Linked DNA regions of Homo sapiens: region 1 is linked to region 2. The links are contacts of gene promoters, found by promoter capture Hi-C in blood cells and fetal thymus (Javierre and others, 2016). All regions are on one chromosome and are shown on one strand. The core of a region is centred on a gene start or on the middle of the fragment in contact, and the rest is flanking DNA. Distances in the headings are between cores, read along the strand shown.

Region 1 (3,351 bases), core at 498-2,997, 440 kb before region 2:
CAGTGGTGATGTGTCTTTGTGGATTTTATATGCCAGTTGAAGATCAGGAGAAGTCAAGATATTCCCAGATATGTTCCTGATTATATTTCAAAATGGGTGATCATGTTATAGCTTCCTCAGACAAGTGGTTCCCAAACTCAGCTCATCATCTTCTGAAACACCTGGGAAACTCTTTAAAATTATAGATTCTGGGAGCCTTCCAAGTCTACTGAATCAGAACCTCTTAGAATTGAGCCTTTGCATCTGTATTTTTTTAAAGCTCTTCCATTGATTGCTATTATACATCTAATTTTGAAATCCACTGTGACATGGCCTTTAATCAAAATGCTTTACTCTAAACAGTATGGCCATATAGGGACTATGTGCAGAGAAAGAAATGATTGGCTGAGCACTTATCCTGAGCTAGTACTTGGGCTTGGGTAAATATATCATTTCATGTGATCGTTGTAACAGTCATGGCAGATATAATAAATGTTCACTATATCTACAAGGCAACAAGACAAAGAGGTGCTGAGAGATAAACTGATGTCCTTAATGTCACATGGCTAAGAAGTAATAGAATGATGACAGATCTGGATGCTTATTGTGCCAAAGCTTACTTTATATCAATGGCAACGAAAATGGTAACTTACTTTTATATCGCGTGTTAGTGTTTACTTTCTATGTTTGCAGATACCTCTTTGACAAAACACATTTTATAGATTTTTCAAACTTGGGATAAGAGGAACTCAAACTGAAATAAACTAAGGTTCTTAACTGTAGTCATTCTGATTTTCCTCTAGTACTCATTTCAACTGATGAAGTCTTACCTTATATTTTAAAGGGAAGTCTTCCCTGACCCAACATTGTATCACAGGCCAAGTCAGGTAATTTATGTGGGCTCATAAATTATTTTTCATAGCTCTTATTCTAATTCTAACAAACTATTTTTATATTTATTTATTAAGTGGATTTCAACCCCATCAAACTGTAATCTTCATGAGTGCAAAGAGCTTGGTTATTCTTCAATCCATAGCACCCAATTCTGGGCTTACCCTATAGTAGTTGCTCAATAAAGACATGTTGAATGAATCAGTAAACACCTATGCTATTTCCCCTGAATGGATTTGCCACTATATTATTCATAATACACATAAATATACCAAAAATTTTGAAATTTTGTACTAGAAATTTTGTAGTTTTATTTATTTATTTATTTATGGAGTCTCACTCTGTTGCCCAGGCTGGAGTGCAGTGGCATGGTGCAATCGTGGCTCACTGCAACCTCCGCCTCCCGGGTTCAAGTGATTCTCCTGCCTCAGCCTCCTGAATAGCTGGGACTACAGGCCTGTGCCACCATGCCCGGCTTTTTTTTTTTTTTTTTTTTGTATTTTAGTAGAGATGGGGTTTTACTGTGTTAGCCAGGATGGTCTTGATCTCCTGACCTCGTGATCCGCCCACCTCTGCCTCCCAAAGTGCTGGGATTATAGGTGTGAGCCACTGCACCTGTCCATTTTGTGTTTTTATTAACTACCTACTCTTTGTATATATAAAATAGTTACTCATAATTAAAACAGACAAAAATTACTTCCTGAGTTTATTATTAAATATTACTCATAATTAAGTAAAATGCAGACAAAACTGCGTCCTGATTTTATTTATTATTTCTTGTCATTATTGCTGAACTTGGATAATTTTTAATGCACAAATATAATCTTAAAAGCAGGAATTAATCACAAAGAAATATATTAAAAATAATTTCTTGTGATGTAAAATACTCCCATGTATTTTGCTATTTGCATTGTATAATGATTAGATGGTTTTGAGAAGATGAATGGCTTGTCTTATTTTGGCTTTCATAAAAAGAAATTTTACTTGCAATTGTAATTCACATTTACTGAGACAAAATAACCCTGTAGTCCTGACTAGCCTAACTTGTTCCTGTAGGTTGACCATATAACAGATCCTTTCACCATAAGGAAATCTACCTTTTTTAAATGGAGATGGAATGATATTTTCAACACCTTGTAATTCATGCAATAGCCCTAGCTAAATTAAAACAAATTCTATGGATGCCATTAATCAGTGGTGTTCTAATTTTATCTTCACATTAGGATCATCTGGGGACTTTGAAAAACTAACTCGTGCCTGTGACCCACTCCCAGAAAATGTGATTGATTGGTTTGGAGTATGGCCTAGGCTTCAAATTTTTTAAAAGATTGATGGTTTATCTTAATGTACACAAGTTTGGGGACTACCTTTATTAGTTTCTGTCTTCCTCAGACAAGATAGCAGAAATACGGATGTTTCTGCCTTAATCTTGGAATAGATTTGTGGAATGCCCTGTTGACTCTGAAAGTGGAATTTAGACATTGAATTTCCTGAATTTGCCTGCAAAGATTGCAAGTTAGAAAAGGGAATTCCAAGGTGTCTCTTAAACTTGGAGGTCTTTGGTAACCTATATGTCAAAGCCTAAGACTAGGGAAGTTTTGATAGCAAATTTATCAGTGAGTAGGGAAGCGAATAAGAATTAAATATAGACTTTAAAATATCTCTTATACCTCCACCTCTCAAAACATAGCCGAGTTGAATAGGATGATTATAATCCTATATTACCTAAAAGGTGGGATTTAAAATGAGTTTAACATAATATGATTTATTAGCTGAAGAGATAATAATAGCAAGTTTTAGTGAAGTACCAGTTATGTCATCTCGTAATGAAGACATTTACGATCCAAGAGGGAATATTTACATTAACACCATTATTAATATTACTGTGTGCTGACTTCACAAAATTCCCAAAGCATGGAATGCAATTTAAAAATCAATGGTTTCTTTTGTGCACTTGTACCCTAGAACTTAATGTATAATAATAATTGTTTCTGTGCCTAAAGAGACATTTAAAAGCTGTTGAAATTTTGAAAAGCTTGTGGTCTTAAAAATGGCTGAAATCAGTGTTCTAACAGCACATATTTAAACATGTGGCCATAAAGCATTTCTTCTTTCCTCTCTTCCTTCCTTCTTTTTCTTTCTTCCTTCTGCACGCTCTCTCTGTCTTTCTCCCTCTCTCTTTCTTTCACTCTGAATGACACATATCCCATCACCATGAAAGCCTTGTGTGCAACTGCCAGTTGACACGGGCCTATTGTGGAAGGCATAGAGAGTATGCAGAAAGTTAAGTACCAAAGAAAGAAAAACAGTAAACCACTTGCTTAAGCTGATCTAGTGTTTTCTATTCTTTGGACTCTAGGTTCTAAATAATTGAACCTTGATCTCATTTGAGGTGAGGAAAATACACACACACAGGTGGCCTAACTTCTAATTATTTCATTCCCAGTGAAAGGCGCAGGTGTCAAAGTCTTAAGGATTCTG
Region 2 (3,495 bases), core at 1-2,500:
TGCAGGGCAGGTCTTTTGGGCATCCTCACAGGTCACAGTTTCTGAGTAAGACGCTGCCACCATACTCAGGAGAAGGAGAGGGAGTGATGGAAACAGGGACATGGTCCTCACCTTGGTGTGAGAAAACTCAGGGAAGGTTAATCTCAGTTAATGAACACATATTTACCGAGCATGCCCTCTGTCCTACAATCTGGGTGCAGGCTATATAGAAATAGATGACCCATCCCTGGCCTCTAGCTGGGGATTTGGAAAAGTAAACATTCCTTGTGACACTGCGTGACTAGTACTTTAACAAAGGTAGGCACTATGATGAGCAGTGGGGATCCTAAGGAGGGGTTCATCTGTGCCTAGACACCTGGCGTTGCTGCTGGAAGACTATAAACATGCTTTCGGTGGCAGTGAGAACAAATGGGACCGTGCATTGCCAGCTGGCTTATGCCTGTTAGCTTAGGGAATGAGAATGAGTGGAAACCCAGGTGTCTGTAGGAGCTTCCTCTTTCTCTCCATGTCCTCTTCGGGTCCATCTGCCACCTGAATCCCATCTTTGTATCTGGGCAGCTGATTCCCCTCCAGGACCTGTTAACTATCATTTACTCATTGGCAGGCCCTGAGCTGAAAGCTGGTGATCCAAAGAGGAAGGTCTCAACCTCAGATCAACCTCAACCTTAGTCACCAACCCAGCCCAGAATTAACTGGAGTTTGCTTCCCCTTGGTGTTTTAGACAGGCTTGCCTGGGTAAGCATTTTCTCTGGAAATTTCTTACTACGTTGGCCCTGGCAGAGTGCTAAATACCTCTCTACTTTCTGGCAGGAATTCCCCATGTTCTGTGAGTCAAAAACCACTGGCAATTAGAAAACTTGCCTTGAATCCTCCTCCCATTTCTCAGTATTAACCTTTCATTTGTTCTTCAGAGCTTTCTTCCAGCTATTGCCCCCTAAGAAACCTCAGCAGCCTAGCCCCATAGGTCTAAGCCTCCAAGTTTCCCTTTGAAAACAAAGACAGTCTCCACTGCAGATGAACAGATAATGGAGGAAAGTCACAGATGCTCCAGCACAAGCAGAAAAAGAGACATCCTCAACCTGATTTCTGCTTTCCATCCCACTCCCCCCACCCCTAGAAAGCCTCCTCCATGCCTCCAGGGTCATGTCAGCTCCCCAAACCCTTGATCCGGAAACCCAGATTTATTCACCAGAAATGACTTACTGGTGTTTCTGCAGAGCAGGGACTCAGTGACAAGGACGCTGGCCCTCTAGCCTGGGGCTCTGGCAGATGCCTCAGAGTGAGGGAGGAGGCTGGGCTCAGCAATGTAGGGCCCAATCAACCTTGTGAACAAGGATATCCTGGGCCTGGCCTTCAACTCCAGATTAATAAACAGCTCTTCTCAGAACTATGAGAAATTTAGGAGCCTCCAATACAGTGCTCGGCAGCTGTCTGCTTTAATACAGCACAATTCCTCTTTCAATTGCCATCCATTTTGGCAAATCTCATTGCTGAACTACCACAGCTAGGTTCACCTAGTTAGTCCTGTTGACATCCTTGTTTCCAACAGAAAAACAAAGATACTCACAAATGCATACACATGCTCATGCACACCAACTATACACACAGACACGTGCATGCACGCACACACCCATCCATGAAACCACATAGACCTCTTGCTGCCATTAATGCATTAAGGCCATTCCTGCCTCAGACTCTTCATTTGATGTCTCCATGCCTGGACCCCTTACGGGCATCGCCAGCTAGCTCTTTCTCTTCTATTCAAATATTCCAATTTCAGAGAAATCAGTACCTTGATCACTTATTCTAAAATAGTCCTACCTAGCAGTCTCTATCCTCTTAGCCTGAATTATTTTCTCTCATGTTACTTACACTTTATGATATTATAGTCATTGACTTTACTTTTCCAGTTTTTCATTGTGGTAAAATAGACATAAAATTTACCATTTTGACCATTATTATTAAGCACACAACTCAGTAGCATTAAGTACATTCACACGGTTGTGCTATCATCACCACATCATGGGATGATTTTCATCATCCCAAACTGAAACTCTCAACTCATTAAACTAGAATTCTCCATTTACCCCTACCCACAGCCACTGGTAACTTCTGTTTTACTTTCTGTCTCTCTGAATTCATCTATCCTAGGTACCTCATATATGTGAAATCATACAATAGCCCCCTTGTATCTGGCTTATTTCACTTAGCACAATGTCTTCAAATTTCATCCTCATAACAAGAATTGTAAACTGTGTTAAAGACTTTGGGTTTCCTTCCAGGGGGCACTAGAGGGACTGCAGTAGTGGAGAGGTGATCACATTTGAATTTTGCAAGGCTTGTTCTGGCTATGATGTTGAGGGGAACAGGACTGGAGAAAAGCAGATCTAAAAGGAAGTGCTTGCCATGATCTAAGCAGCAGAAGACAGTGGCCTGGGTCAGGGTAATGGCAGCTAGATTAAGAAGGTAGGCACACTTGAGAAACAGGAGGTATTGATTGCACTTGAGAATTAGCTAGAATAGTGAGTGATAATAAGAAGTTTTCATGGGCACACACATTTATGACTTGACTATCTAGGAGCCACTCAACTGAGATAAGAAGCAAAAGAACAGCACTTGGCACTATAAGATCATGGGTATCGTGTGTGTTAATGGCTTGAACCATCTTGCTGTGGTTAATGGGGACAATCTAGAAGGGATGGAAGAATACTTTTACGAACATAGTTCATTTGATTCTCAACTACATTACTGATATGGCTTTCAGAAAAATGCCATGTAGCTTGGGGTGTTGGGGAGCCCATCCTGAGAAGTTCAGAGGCTGCGGGGCCATGTGGTGGGGGTACTATGGAGGCCTCCAAACACCAAAAGAAATGTGAGTAAGATGCATTTCCAGGTCCCTTCCAATTGAAGTCTTCTTGGCTTGTGGAGGGACTGGCTTCCTTACTTCCTGCTGACCTGTCTGCTGTGCCTGGAAAAATGTCCAGGATGGTACAGAGCCACATGCCTAAAGCCATCAGTGGATATCAGGAGATCCAGGGCCTAAAGAAGACAGGGCCTGAGAAGACTTGTTTCCCTTCTTATTCTTTAGCAGCCAGAGCTTCCCCCTGCTCCTGCTCCAGTGGCAGAAGGTGAGGTGAGGTAGTTGACTCCAGGTCACTGGCGGTGCTGGCTTTAATCACAGTGCTTGCTTTCATTGTTTACCTAGTCCAGAGGTCAGGAAACTGCTCTCCAGACCCTGAAATTTCCTAGAACTGGGTTCAGAGGGTGTGGGTATCTGGGGGAAAGTCAATCTAGCAATTGATCCGGAGATTGGAGTGTCACCCAGTTACATCCTGCTCTCCAGAAGGCCTTTCCCAAAAGGAGAGGCCACTCTCCACATGCCGCAGCCTGAATGTCTCTCTCCACACGAATGCCCACTCTGCACTCCACCCCATAGATAAGGCCACTGTGTGCATTTGTTCTGGACTTTAAAACCCTTCCCAGCCAGGCGTGGTG

The links. The method cuts DNA at HindIII sites, captures the fragments that hold promoters and counts their contacts. A CHiCAGO score of 5 or more calls a contact.
Region 1: a contact is called between a fragment that was not itself captured here and the fragment with the promoter of MBL2 in region 2, in 1 of 17 cell types (megakaryocytes). The highest score is 5.0, in megakaryocytes.

What each region holds. Positions count from the first base shown.
Region 1 is chr10:52,328,718-52,332,068 of GRCh38, forward strand. No RefSeq gene overlaps it. Among named protein-coding and RNA genes, the nearest start is that of DKK1, 16 kb to the left of the region's middle. The HindIII fragment of the contact is 2,311 bases long and covers 593-2,903 here.
Region 2 is chr10:52,771,534-52,775,028 of GRCh38, forward strand. It overlaps MBL2 (mannose binding lectin 2), which reads right to left and starts at 1,251. Exons shown (of 5, transcript NM_001378373.1): 1 at 1,204-1,251; 2 at 1-111. The coding sequence starts at 102. The HindIII fragment of the contact is 7,250 bases long and covers 1-3,495 here.